Regions from separate parts of the Homo sapiens genome. Here regions 1 and 2 are each linked to region 3. The links are contacts of gene promoters, found by promoter capture Hi-C in blood cells and fetal thymus (Javierre and others, 2016). All regions are on one chromosome and are shown on one strand. Each heading gives the region's core, a stretch centred on a gene start or on the middle of the fragment in contact. The rest is flanking DNA. Distances are from core to core; before and after follow the strand shown. Region 1 overlaps PHLDB2 (pleckstrin homology like domain family B member 2). Region 2 overlaps PHLDB2 (pleckstrin homology like domain family B member 2). Region 3 holds the start of ZBED2 (zinc finger BED-type containing 2).

Region 1 (4,600 bases), core at 1,767-4,266, 330 kb after region 3:
AAAATAGCTGAACTGGAAAAGAACATTGTTGGTGAAAAGACCAAGGTAAAAGAAAATTATATTTCAATGCAGTTTTTATGGGCAAAGTGGTGGTCCCAGTTGATTGAATTTAAATGTTGAATGCATTACTGGGGTTTTGGATTTGTGTGTCATGTTCCTGGAGGCAGTGGCACTAGAGAAAAATCCTAAGATCATACATTGTCAGAAACCAAGAACTGCCAGGTACTGGGCAGCTGATGCTGAGAGAGCAGAGTTCATATAATTTGTGAGCCGATATTCCTGGCAGCTTTATCCTACTTGAGATGAGTGCGTTGTTTGTTTGCTTTTTTTCATTGGCCTTTCTGCTTTTCTGATTCCATTGTGTTTTTTAAGTAATTTCTTTAGTATACTGAAGTTCTTTACCACTGCTGCCCTGTAGGGATGGCTTAAGCAAATTCAAATAGGGTTGCCTCATTTCTTTTATTTCTTTTCATTTTTCTGTTTATTAAACAGATGAATGAGAACCACTCATCTCACCTGCTTTGCCTTGCTATTGTTTTCAATGCAAGTGCACTGCTTTTTGACAAATGTATTGGAGTTTCTAAAATTTTCTTCTTGGGGTAGTCCTCACACACTGCCAAGAGAAAGCTATCTGTGAAACACAGTTGACACTTATCTTGGAAAAGGTTCTGTGTATACATTTTGGATCACAACCTGAATGGTGGCTGATATCTATTAGGGAAAGTATGAAAAATCACTTGCAAATTTTAGAATTCAGGATGGTAGTTGGGTTTGTCTGTTTATGTGTTTTTTTCCTCTGGGAAATATACATTACTCTCCTCTCCCATTCTGAGTTAGTTAGAGCAGAACTAAAAATAAAATTCCAATAAAACTGAAAATAAAATTCCAATTTGAGAAAGAAAAAGCAAATAAGCTTTAACACATTCTTCCTTACTCAACATGTTCTCCACTAAGCTGAGAAAAAGAAAAAATTTTTAGTTTGAGTAAGTTCTAGTGGTAATGTGTAGAAAGAATTTCTGCTGAACGTGACTTCCTTTTTAGGCTCTTATTTGTTTAAGACCTATAAATAAGGGCATTTGATCTTGGTGCCAGAGAATGAGCTCAAAATGGTAGTCAGAAATAAAGTCAAATTAAATGCTACACATCAATTTCTTGGTTACCAGCATGTCAGAATTAAACTGCACAGGCTTTTCATATTAAATTTTATGTACGTTCATTCTGCCCCCAGACTTTTTTTTTTTTTTTTTGAAACGGAGTCTCACTCTGTCGCCCAGGCTGGAGTGCAGTGGCGCAATCTCAGCTCACTGCAAGCTCCGCCTCGCAGGTTCAGCCATTCTCCTGCCTCAGCCTCCCAAGTAGCTGGGACTACAGGCACCCGCCACCACACCCGGCTAATTTTTTGTATTTTCAGTAGAGACGGGGTTTCACCATGTTAGCCAGGATGGTCTCGATCTCCTGACCTCGTGATCCGCCCACCTCAGCCTCCCAAAGTGCTGGGATTACAGGCGTGAGCCGCCGCGCCCGGCCCAAACTTTTAAGTAGTATTTGGGTAGTGGGTGTATTTTTCCTAAAAGGCCAAAATGAAGTCAAAGAGTTGACTGTCTAAGTCTGCAGTACTGAAGGATTCAGTTAATGGCTATGCTTTTCAAAGATTCTGCAAGAAGCCTTCATTGGAGGCATCAGATGTCTTGTGTTAATATTTTATTATCAAGTAAATATTAATTAAATTAAGTAATAGTAGAGTAGTTTTATTGCTATGTATATCATATTGGAAAACTCGTGCAACATAGGAATTAGGTATCATGTTCCCTGTGAACCCTCCTGCCATCCTAATCCATGTAGTTATTTATTTTGTGTATCTCACATATGGCATGGCCTGCAAATTCTATTTGTGTATTTCTCATTAATATCAGATTCTACACAAAAGTGAAGCAAGTTGAGCCAATGTTAAATCTCACTTCCCAGGGAAAGTTATCTTATGTTTTCAAGGTGGAATTCTCAGGTGGAATTCTAGGAACACGGGCAGAAACAAGCAAGGAAGCTACCTCCATCCTTCCTAATATTGTTTTGATGGCTTGACAGAGGCTATGCACTGGAGAGGGGACTACAGGGGCTTGACGCATAGGACCAGCTCATACAGCTATGAGGGAATTAGTTGGTCTTAGAAGGTAGGATTATTCTCTGTCATTACATCATGTGAAAAATGGCAGAAACTGGCTTGGGGTGAGGAACTCCAGAAGAGGATGTGGGAAGTGGAAACAAAGACTGGTCTAGATGATGTTACTACGTATTCTTGACAACTAAACTCAAATAGAGACTCAACACAGCTTGGCAAAAACATTATTATGTTTCTCAAATAAATTTATTCCACCATTTAATGACACAGCTATTTCATACACTCTGTTCATACTCCTGGCCAACTTTCATCCCTCTGGCTCAGAGATCATCTTACCATAGAGAAATTAGAAGCATCCCATCTTCTCACAATGAAGGCGGGGTTCCCTCCTTCCATCAAAGACCACTCCCTTTGGATGTGCTCTGGGTGTCATCCTATCCCACCTTCTTGAGGTCTTCAGTCTTTCTGCACCCTCACCCCCTGGGGTCAGTTTCTCTCTCTTTACTGTCAGCATGCCAATATTATTATTTTTAAAATAAATTACTACTTTATCGATTAACGATAAGCTACTACCTTATCTCTCTTCTCTTCATCATAGCTAAACTTATTAAACAATTTTCTGGGTATACTGTGTCTCCTTTTCTTCATTTTCCAATTAAACATTCTTCCCACTCCAGTTGGCTTAGACCTCTACTCCTCCATCAGATTCTCTCCTGTTAAGACTACTAAAGACCTCAGTGGTGCCCAGCCTGCTGGGTGCTTTTCAGTCCCCTCATGATCAGACTCCCGAGCAGCATTCAGTACAGGGGACAGCTCTTTTCTTGGTGCTTCTTCACTGTCTCCCTTTTGTTTGCCTCTGTGTACCACAATCTTCTGGTTTTCCATCTATTTCTCTTACCTCTTTCTCACTCTTTATCTCTCATCTGAACTCAGTTCTCTTGTACCCTCATGTCCTTCTATAGCTATGGCTTCAAATAACTTGTATATGCTGGTGACTATCATAGGGATTTCTCTAGTTCATAACCCTTTTTGGAATTCTGACTCATATCCTGTGCCTACCTGACATCCCCACTTGGATATTTCATGGGTATTTCCAATTGAACACACCCATAACTGAACTCTTGATCTTATCTTTTCCCTTGCCTTCCACCCTCCACCCTCCATCCTCTAGTTTTTCCAACCAGGAGATTGCATCTCTATTCACCTATATGTTCAACAGAAACCTGGAAATTGATCTTGACACGTCTTTCCTTATCATCCCTACATTCAGTTGATTACCAGCTTGTTTCTTGATTGCTTCAACATCTCTGCATCTCCACTAACAGCATTCTCTTCTCTATTATGAAAATCTCTTATTTAGTCTACTTCCACTTGCTTTCCTTCAATCCATTCTCTTCACAGCAGCCAATGTGATTAAAAAGAAGAAATTAGACCATATTACTGTGGTTTGCATCACACTGTACTTGACTATGCATCCAAATTCCGTAGTGTGATCTGTCACCAGCCTTTCTGTCACCACCCTCCCATTCTTCACAGCACTCTCAGAGTCACCTTCCTTTCTATCTTTCTGTTTGTTAAAAGATTCATCCTCCCCCAACCCCAGTCCTTTGCAGATACTGTTTTCCCCTACCTGGAATTCCCTTCCTCATATTCCATGCCTCATTGGTTCTGTCTTTCAGGGCTCAAGATCAGTGTTAGTTTTTCAGAAAAGCCCTCCTAGACCTTTCCAGTTCGGGTTAGATTTTCCCTGTTGTTCTTTTTACAGATAAACATTTTATAATTTATGTTTGTTTTGAGCCTACTAGACATTTATATCCCACTCTAGCCTGTGAAATAGAGGAGGGCACTAGGGCACTGTGATCCACTGTTTATCCAGCCCGTAGCATGTGCCAGGCAGGATACTGCCCAGTGTGCTTACGAATATTGTTGTTGGATTTTCCTGCTAATGGCTGGTCCAGGCTGGGCCTTAGCAAAACACTGAGCCAAACACCTGCCAAAGAGTGCAGCCAAGTTTCAGGACAGCTGGGCTGGGCTGCCCGTGTGCATATGCCAGGAGGCCTGTAGTCACACGGCCCATCATGCCAAAGCGTAAGACAGAAGGAGGAAGTGGCCTTTCCCCTTAGGGATCGTGTTTCCTTTTCCATACACCTGTTGCTGTGGTCAGATATAAACCATGGAATGAGAAAAGCAAAACCTGAAAAGATATCTCTGTTGGGCAAGCTCCGATTCAGATGTTAATAGTACATCCTGTAAGCCTGGCTCTAGAATTTTGGAGACAAGGCCGGAGCCATAGGAAAAAGGTTTAATAATACCTCAGAATGCCTCCCCATTCAAATCTTTTGTTTTTTATTTTTTTGGGACAGAGTCTCTCTCTGTTGCCCAGGCTGGAGTGCAGTGGCTTAACATTGGCTCAGTGCAACCTCCTCTTCCCAGGTTCAAGTGATTCTCCTGCCTCAGCCTCCCGAGTAGTTGGGATTACAGACT
Region 2 (4,467 bases), core at 1,044-3,543, 360 kb after region 3:
TATATGTGCACATAATGTGTATTGTGTATGTATATATGATATATATATATATATCTCTCACTGGAACGAGGTTTTCAAATCATTACTAAAGGCGATTTAAAAATTAGAGGGTATAGTATTCATAATAGGTTTATAATGTGTAAGAGACATTTGCAGTGGTAATATTTGAATCAAATAAACTGATTGAACTATTTTATTTTCTTTGCCATAATTTCTTAATAAGCTAAACATATTCTTTTGATGTTTATAAATAATAAACATAAATCCATCTATTTTGGCTCTCATTTATCACTGTTAAGTTGTGGGTCAAGTCTATTTGCTGTTGAAACATTTTTCTGTAATATTTACATATAAATATTTGAGACAAGGTCTCACTCTGTTGTCCAGGCTGGAATGCAGTGGTGTGTGATTATAGCTCACTGCAAACTCTGCCACCTGGGTTCAAGTGATCCTCCCACCTCAGCCTCTCGAGTAAGCTGGAACTATAGGTGTGTGCTACCACACCTGGCTGATTTTTGTATTTTTTGGCAGAGATGGGTTTTTGTCATGTTTCCCAGGATGGTCTCGACCTCCTGGGCTCCAGTGATCTCCCACCTTGGCCTCCCAAAGTGCTGGGATTACAGGCATGTATTAGACTTCTTTTTAAATATATTTTTCCCACCGTCGGAAGACATCAAAGCTTAGATTGGCCACAACACCAACAAAGACCATTAAGCATTTTCATGTACTTCAGGTGTTTAATTGAAAGAGCAAGCATTTGGGAAAGAGGGTGGGATCACAAATTACTATACTCCATGTTAAAAGCATTTTCTTGCCAGGTGTGGTGGCTCATGCCTCTACTCTCAGCACCTTGGGAGGCTGAGGAGGGAAGATTGCTTAAGAATTTGAGACCAGCCTGGGCAACATAGTGAGATCCCATCTCTACAAGTAATTTAAAAATTAGCCAGGCATGGTGGCATGCACCTGTGGTCCCCACCACTCAGGAGGCTGAGGTAGGAGGATCGCTTGAGCCTGGGAGTCAAGGCTGTAGTGAGCTGCCATCATGCCACTACACTACAGCCTAGGCAACAGAGCAAGACCCTGTCTCAAAAAATAAATTAATAAATAAAAGTATTTTCTCAAAGAGTAAGAAAAACTAGAACTTTATAGTAAATAAATAGATTAGCAAAACTCAAGAGCCATTAACATTACCATTTAAGAGGATTTTGTGAGAATATGGTGAAACCGAGGGAAGGTTTGATCTCAGTTATTCTAATCTGTTTTCCCCTGAAGTAATGGGAATCCCATGCCAGTTTCATAGAGGAAAACTGAGCTAATTCCCTTAGGCCACATTACTGATGTTCCCGTTGCAAAATCAAATCTGTCTTTGATTTATCTTTAGTGCTCTTGTTCTTTATTGATACGTCCTTTATGCAGCTCAGAAGACTGCAACTTCAGTCTTTCTCTGCTGTAACTGTGAAGTGCTCTTCCTCTTGAAGAGTTTCATGTAATTCTGATGGGGCAGCTTCTGAGGAAATAAAGAACCATTATATGCGTGTTGGTCCAAGGAGATGTGTTCTGAAAAGACAGCCTGCTGCCTTTGGCTCCCCTACCCAGAGGAGGAGAAGTCAGGGTCTATAGTTCTTAGAACCCCAGCAGACTGTAAAACTGGCAGGATTTTCTACACAGCCCAAACTGGTGGTTCACAAAAAACCCAGGAGGGATGGATCATAATTTCATTTAGAATTGTTTGACTAGCACTTGTTAACTTTATTAAAATAGCAAATACAAGTAAAATTCTATGGATTTGAAAAAAATTATACCTGGCATATTTTCACTAACTCACATTTAGTAGACTTTAATCATCTTTTAAACTTACACAATTAACTTAAATACACCTTTTTTTGCTGCTATTCGTAATGGATACATCAAGGATGATGGTGTAAGTATAAGCCTTAATCAGCACTGTTAATAGAACTGACAGCGTGAGTCGTGCAAAGAACTTTGAGAGGAGAGTTTAAAACAGAGAGCTGAGAAACTCAGCTTCTGAAGTTGGAATGGTTATTGGCTTTTGAACAACTTGTGAACTATTCCTTTGTCAGCTTTAGAATGAATGAAATCTTTGTCCTTTTGTTTTTTGTTAAATACAGGAAAGTCCAAGAAAGGTATGACAACCTCCTTGTGTGGTGTTTTTGTTTCCAGCAAATATTGAAAGGTCATTGTCAAGTCATGTTTAAGAAATGATCAGATTTAACACTGTGCAGTGGTGGATTTTTAGTCTAATGATTATTTCTTTTACACAATAGAGAAAAATTGTTGCACATTTGCAAGAAACACAATGCTGGGTGCAGCTGCTGTTCATTCACTGGCAGCTGCATGACCCTCTTTGTTTTGGCTTTTAATCGCAAGGTCAGACCCTGCAGGAAACATGAGTGCTGTGGAAGCATTGTTTTGTAAGATTCAGGATCTATATAAAGAGAATAGAGGGTATTGTGATGTATATGAGCTAAGTGTAAACCATGATTCTCCTTTAAAAAGGACAGGTATAAATAAGTCAGGCTACAGTCAAAGGATGAAAGGATTTAGGAAGCTCCTACTTATTCATTTCATTGGAGCCTGTTTTCTAAGAAAGACTTAGTGGAGAGTGAAGTATAGTTTAAATGATTGGCTTGAATAAGTAAGATGGTTATTTCCTGTGGCTAGGTGGTAGAGATGTAGGATGTTAGACGATGTGTTATAAAACTTGATGAACTGTGCTTCAAATAATTGAATGGCATTTTACAAACTTGAGCTCTTAAAAACTATTTGCTATTGTCTGTTTGGAAAAAGAATTGTTTGATAGATATAATCTGTTTTTATTCTTCCTATTTTCTGGTTGATGAATATGTGTGAAAGATTTATTTGTCTTGTAACAGTCTTTTTTGACTATGCATGTATCAATTTTTTTTAAGGTTTCTTGAGTTTTTCTCTGTAAACTTGGATTTAATCTGAAACTGTGAACATCATACCTTGTTAATTTGCTATTGTAACTAACACCATCAATGAGTGCATGTTGGAAGTGTTGTATGTTTTTCCTGCCCCCTTGTCATCCTTTTTGATCTTGTATCTTTTTCCCTTTCTACAATCATTCTCCCTCTTCATTCCTGACTTGTCCTGTGCCCTCTTCTTCTGGCTGTGGACTGTCATTAGGAAGAATGAATTCCTCAGCAGGTGAGCTATGACAGGCTGAATTGTTAGAAATACTGGTTAATTTTATCCTCTTAACCCCAGGTTATACTTTAAGTCATCTTACTTTCTATATTACAGCCCAGATAGCCATGTAAAAGTATATACCACATATTGGGAATGTATTGGCAGGACTCTACACATTGTGTAATCGTTAACTCACAAGAGACTTTTCAGGTCCAATTAGCCAGAATTAATAGAGACTGGCATTAAAAATAATAATAATAAATGGGCCTTGCACATTTGGTCCCTTGGCTGTCCCAGGCAGTGAAGAGCTGAACTGGTTTGGGTTCCTTGTGTGGCTATGATTAGAAACAAGCCTCAATTAGGTCTTGCTTTATACACCTTATAAACTACCCCTTCAAACAGCTATTTCTCTCTGGATAGGAAGGATTTAGAGCATTTTCAAGGCCCTTTTTACTGTTTTAGTTGCTTTCCCACTGATTAATGTTATTCTTGCTACATAATTAAAAAACAGAAACCAAATAGTCTCAGGGGTTGGGAAAGTCTCATTTTTCCCAATCTTGTTTCTTTGCTCCCCCTCAAAAAGTAGATGCATTCCACTTCCTTATTTGACTATTTATATAGAATATATAGATGAAAAGATAAATTCATTCAGTGACTGTTTATCTTATGACATCCACATGCCAAATAAATGGAGGTAAACTGTGGTGCACAGGACATCTGCATCCCCTTTCCTGATAAAGCTTCAATGAGAGTGGAGGCCTAGGCCAGTTTACTGCCATTCTAGTGTTCCTTCACTGCACCAGCATCTCTCCTTGGGCCTCCTACCAGGTTACCCAGCCCCGTCCCCTGATCTTCTATGACGTTTCCTCTGTTTAAAATATCTATGCCTTTGGATGGCCAGGCCAGAGCCTGAATCCCAAAATGAGCTCTTTGGAATCACACTGGTTCAATTGCAGGATCACAGGAGAGGGGCCCATGCCCGTATTGATAATTGCAGGGGTTACCTGTTTTTGGGGGATTTGTTCAGCAGGGAGGAAGCTAGGCCAGGTGACAGTGGGGTTCACTGAGGTCAGTAAAGTGTTGCCAGTAGGCAGAAATGAGTAGCTCCATGAGGTGAACTTTTCCACTCACTTTGGATTCATGGGAAATAAAAATCATGGGTTGGGAAAAAGATGCTTATTATTGGCCTCATGCTTTTTCGTTTAAGTTGCCATGAAAATGTAAAATGCTTATCCTACCACCAGAATGACTGGGAGATTCAGTCGTAGAGTCAAACCTCAACAACTTGTGAGTTGG
Region 3 (4,542 bases), core at 1,621-4,120:
AATTAACTTCAGGATCTAAGAAAATGTACTCCATCCTTCCCTCATTCAGACAGTCATGTTCTCTTCCATTTTCATGATAAATTTTCCCTAGAGCACTGTCTCTCTTCCCCATCTTTGCATTTCTTCTCTATCCCATTTATTTCTAACTTTCCTTCCTCTGTTCTTTATTTCTCCTTACTTCCTTTATATCTCTGCCTTCTTTTCATTCTGAATTTCTTTCAGTTCTTCCTCACTAACTCCTTTTCCTTTGACAAACCTTAATATGAAATCAGATTATATTTTAACTATTTATGAATAAGTTTTATATAATCTATACTGAATGTTTAAACTAAGTAAGTTGAGAGGTTTTTCATTTCTCTGTGCTAATTACACATTAATTAGTTTAAGCATTAGGTTGTTAAAAAGACACACCGGACTCAGATTATACTGATGAAACAACTTTAATATAAGCAAGAAAATACATTGCAGCAATAACAGGAGAAAGAGACGCATTGGAAAGGTCCAAAGATCTGAGGCTCACAGTTCTTTGTCCTTCCACTTGCTGGGTCACACAGAACAAGCTTTTATTCATACTGGTGGTCTGGAAACTCCACCAGTACATGTGCTAAGACCTCAGTCCTAGGAAGATTAAGCTCTGCTTCCGGCAGGGTGTCTGCAAGTGAGCTGGTCACATAGGCACATTCCAGCTACCTAACCAGCCTCAGCCCTCAAAATCGTCAGCTCCACCAAAACCGAGTGCTAGGCAAAAATCTGATTATTTTGTTAAACAACGCTGACTGGCTGGTACATTCTGCCCTGAAACAACTCACAGAGTTTTACTTTGGTAGAAGCATTTATCTTTAATAGGTACATTTTAGAGTTTCGGCCAAGGGTCAGCAGAGCTCTAGGAACCTCGTAGATAAGCATTTGGTCAATTCAGACCTGCTCAGATTAACTCATACTGTGCACTATTTCACATAAAAGCAAAATGTCACCAAACTACTTTGCTTTACATTTGAGTTGAAACTAAAATGGCTCTTTTCTACAAGTCTAGAGTCAATGTTTTCAGAATAGATTCTCCAAGCCCAATTTAAACAAAATGGAAGGGATGTACTGCTGCAGGCAGCTCTTTCTCCCGCTGGCATGCCTCCTTCTCAGCCCTCACCTTCCACTTCATCTCCAGGATGGCCCTTTCCACCTCCTCCAGGGCTCGCTCCCTTTTTTCCACAGCCCTCTCCCGCCATTCCACTGCCCTTTCCCTCCTAAGCACCTCCTTTTCCCTTTGGCTGGCCCACAAAGCCATGGTGCCCACCTGCTCCAGGAGCCTACCCCAGTTACCCTCAATGCCTGTGGGGAGCTGGGGCCCGTGGGGCCTTGGATCCTGGCGCTGCCCAGCCTGACCATGGCCACTCTTCTCCAGCTCCTCTCTGTGCATGCTTTTCAGATGCTTCCACAGTGCAGTGGTGCCCACGTTGACCCCAGGGCCACGGCTCACCTGCCTGCCACACAGGCGGCAGGTGGCATACTGGTTGGGATGGTGCCCAGCACGAGCAGGAGCTAGGTGGAAATATTCCCATGCCTCAGAGAACCGGGTGCCCTTGTTGTGGGGCATTGGAGTGGGCATAGCACTCACAAAAGGGCCAACCAGTTCTCCTGTCTCACTAATCTCTTCCTCCTCCTTCATCTCTAAGTCCCCTTTTGCCTTCATCATTGTTCCCTCCTCTTCCTCGTCTTCCCGCCTCATCATGTCACCTCTTCTACAGCGTTCTTTATGATGTGCTTAGATGTGAGCCAAAAGCTTATTTGAACCACAAGATTAAATATATATTTGGGAAGGGCCTGTGGTAACTCTTGGGGATTCACAATAATGGCCAAAGTCTGGCCACACCTGGGTGGTGTGAGGTTTCTTCCTTTCTGCTTCACTGGAGAGTCAGGGGTGAGTCAGATACAAGCAAAACAGCCCAAGAGTGCATTCCTTCCATGCCCCAGATACTTACTTATCCTCCCTTGACTAGGCCAGAAAGACAAAACATATCAGTTCCTGTAGCAAAGGGGTTCTCTGGTCCAACAATTACAAAGCTCTTTGATGAACTCAGTGTTTTCTGCATCAACCACCACGACAGGTATTTTTGAATATTGAAAATTTTAGGTTTTCTTGTTTCTCCTCCTGGTTGTTTCCACTGTTTCTGTGCTTCTTATTTCCTATAATTGCATTTTGGAGGCAGGAGAAACAGCCTCAGGGTTCAGGCTTTTCAGGACCAACAGAGCTAGGGCCTCACTGGGTCTTGCTCAAAGTAGGTAAAAGCAAACACAGGCAGATGCTGGTGCAGGAGACAATCTTGCTTCCTAAGAACTGTTGCAACAAGCAATCCAGAGTAGACAAAGCCTATGAGGATCTGGATAATAAAGTTCCCAATGCAAGGTCAGTTTGTCCTTAGAGGTGTCTCTCAGAGGCCAGGAGTCTAAGAAATCCAAAAAGCAAGCTCAGCTGTTTCAGCAGGAGGAGCTGGGATGCACAGAGGAGAAGGTGGAGCACATCTTCACAAACACAGCGTTGCCTGGCTGTCCTTAGCAAGCAGCTCACCATACTCCACCTTCTCCACCAGGATCACCTGCAAAGCCAACAGCCAATAAGACCTTCCTGAGGCAACTTACTCCAGATGTTTTGCTCTTTACCTCATTTTAAAGATAAATAAGTAAATGGAAAATCATATTACATTTAAAAACAGCCCGACTTCTCTCTCCTTTCTTGGGTCATTTCTTAAACTAATGAGAGCTTTATTTAATCAAGCTCTGCAACCGTGAACAGTTAGGAAATTCCCCCCAGCCACAAGTGGGTACTTACAAGCAGGCAAGGCTCTGGACTTCTCTCTGATCTTTCCTGCGCAGAGTGAAAGCACTCCTGCACACCTTGGATGTCTATTAGCTGACTCCTACCCCCAGAAGGAGGGCACCTCCAGTTCTGGTTTCCTCCCACTTCTAGGGAAGCATTGTTTCCAGGTAGGTGTGTCTGTGCCTGTTGGGTTTTTCTGCAACACTTAGACACAGATGCAAACCTTTTCTCCACCCCCTCCACCACCAAGAAAAGGATGTTCCTGGCATATGTCATGCAGCAAAACAGTAAGTCAAGCACCTACAAGTCTTAGTTCTCTTTTTTGATGACTAGATTACCTAACCTCTCAAGTAAAGCAAGCGATTTGAAGGAGGAAGAGTGGGAAAGGCTGAAATATTAAATGTATACACACATATATATTATATATATACATACATTATATATAATATGCATAATATATATATGTGTGTGTATACATATTTAGATTGAGAAGGAAAACCTACCAAGAGGAGATAGGAAGACTCTAAAGAAGGTATCAATAGAAGAAGAAAAAACTTTGTGTTATAAAAGGAAAGATAGAAATGGCATTGCAGGCCAGGAGCCATGGATCTTGCCTGTAGTCCCAGCACTTTGGGAGGCCGAGGCAGGTGGATCACTTGAGGTCAGGAGATCGTGGCCAGCTTGGCCAACATTGTGAAACCCTGTCTCTACTAAAAATGCAAAAATTAGCCAGGTGTGGTGGTGCACGCCTGTAATCCCAGCTACTTGGGAGGCTGAAGCAAGAGAATTGCTTGAACCCGGGAGGTGGAGGTTGCAGTAAGCCAAGATCATGCCACTGCACTCCAGCCTGGGCGACAGAGGGAGACTCTGTCTCAAAAAAATAAATAAATAAAATGAATAAATAAAAATAAAAAAAGAAAGAAAAGAAAAAGAAATGGCATAGCAGAAAATATGTAGAGGTTGACAGTTAAATTAAAATAGAAAAAAAAGATGGGGGAAAAAGATTCAAAATAGGAATGAGACTGGGAGGAGTTTTAGAACATGAACCACATTTCTAAACCAAATCTTGGAACGCAAAGTCTAGAGAGAGTCTAGAATGTTTGAAATTTGGATCATTTCAGAAAATCTGAACCTAGAGAATTCATGAAAGTCAAATCTTTTCAAAATTTTTAGACGTTAACCAGAGTTCTTCAGTGAGCCAGTTGCCTTCGTAAAATAATAACACCCCCACTTACTCCTGATATTACCATATCGTCATCTTTGGTGGGTTAACTAAAGAGAAAGGAAATGAATCATAAGAATGGTTAATGTCACTGGATTAATGCAAAACTTTGTATCTTTTTCTTTTTTTAAAAAAACATTTTACCTCCTTTACCTTTTTGTCTCTTCCTGGACCAACTGGAGATAAAAATCAATCTTTGGCATCTATTGAATTAAACTGAACACTCTCCTTTACTTAATAAGAATGTATTTTAGAGGATCTGGTTTTGCTTTTAATTTTTTAGTGGAGAGACTAGCATCCCTGGCCCATATATGTATCCCCATTATCTGGAAAGGCAAGTGTTGAACGGATGGGAATACTGGGAGCTACGGTGTTTGCCACCCAGCATCTTGGATATGCTAGACAACCCCCTCTGAAATTCTCTTGTTTCATTGGGATTTCTGTAGCAATGTACTGAGAAATAGTAAACTTCTGTAGGATTTCACCAGGAAAATGTTAGTTAGCATTC

What was found. The method cuts DNA at HindIII sites, captures the fragments that hold promoters and counts their contacts. A CHiCAGO score of 5 or more calls a contact.
Region 1: a contact is called between a fragment that was not itself captured here and the fragment with the promoter of ZBED2 in region 3, in 1 of 17 cell types (neutrophils). The highest score is 5.3, in neutrophils.
Region 2: a contact is called between a fragment that was not itself captured here and the fragment with the promoter of ZBED2 in region 3, in 1 of 17 cell types (neutrophils). The highest score is 7.1, in neutrophils.

What each region holds. Positions count from the first base shown.
Region 1 is chr3:111,920,375-111,924,974 of GRCh38, forward strand. It overlaps PHLDB2 (pleckstrin homology like domain family B member 2), which reads left to right. Exons shown (of 18, transcript NM_001134438.2): 5 at 1-45. Among named protein-coding and RNA genes, the nearest start is that of ABHD10, 56 kb to the right of the region's middle. The HindIII fragment of the contact is 4,210 bases long and covers 912-4,600 here.
Region 2 is chr3:111,955,107-111,959,573 of GRCh38, forward strand. The region is part of intron 12 of PHLDB2 (pleckstrin homology like domain family B member 2); the gene reads left to right. Among named protein-coding and RNA genes, the nearest start is that of ABHD10, 22 kb to the right of the region's middle. RefSeq lists a silencer at 2,376-2,670. The HindIII fragment of the contact is 3,232 bases long and covers 678-3,909 here.
Region 3 is chr3:111,592,476-111,597,017 of GRCh38, forward strand. It overlaps ZBED2 (zinc finger BED-type containing 2), which reads right to left and starts at 2,871. Exons shown (of 2, transcript NM_024508.5): 1 at 2,825-2,871; 2 at 425-2,591. The coding sequence starts at 1,726. The coding sequence ends at 1,070. All of the region lies in intron 5 of CD96 (CD96 molecule), which reads left to right. The HindIII fragment of the contact is 5,050 bases long and covers 1,776-4,542 here.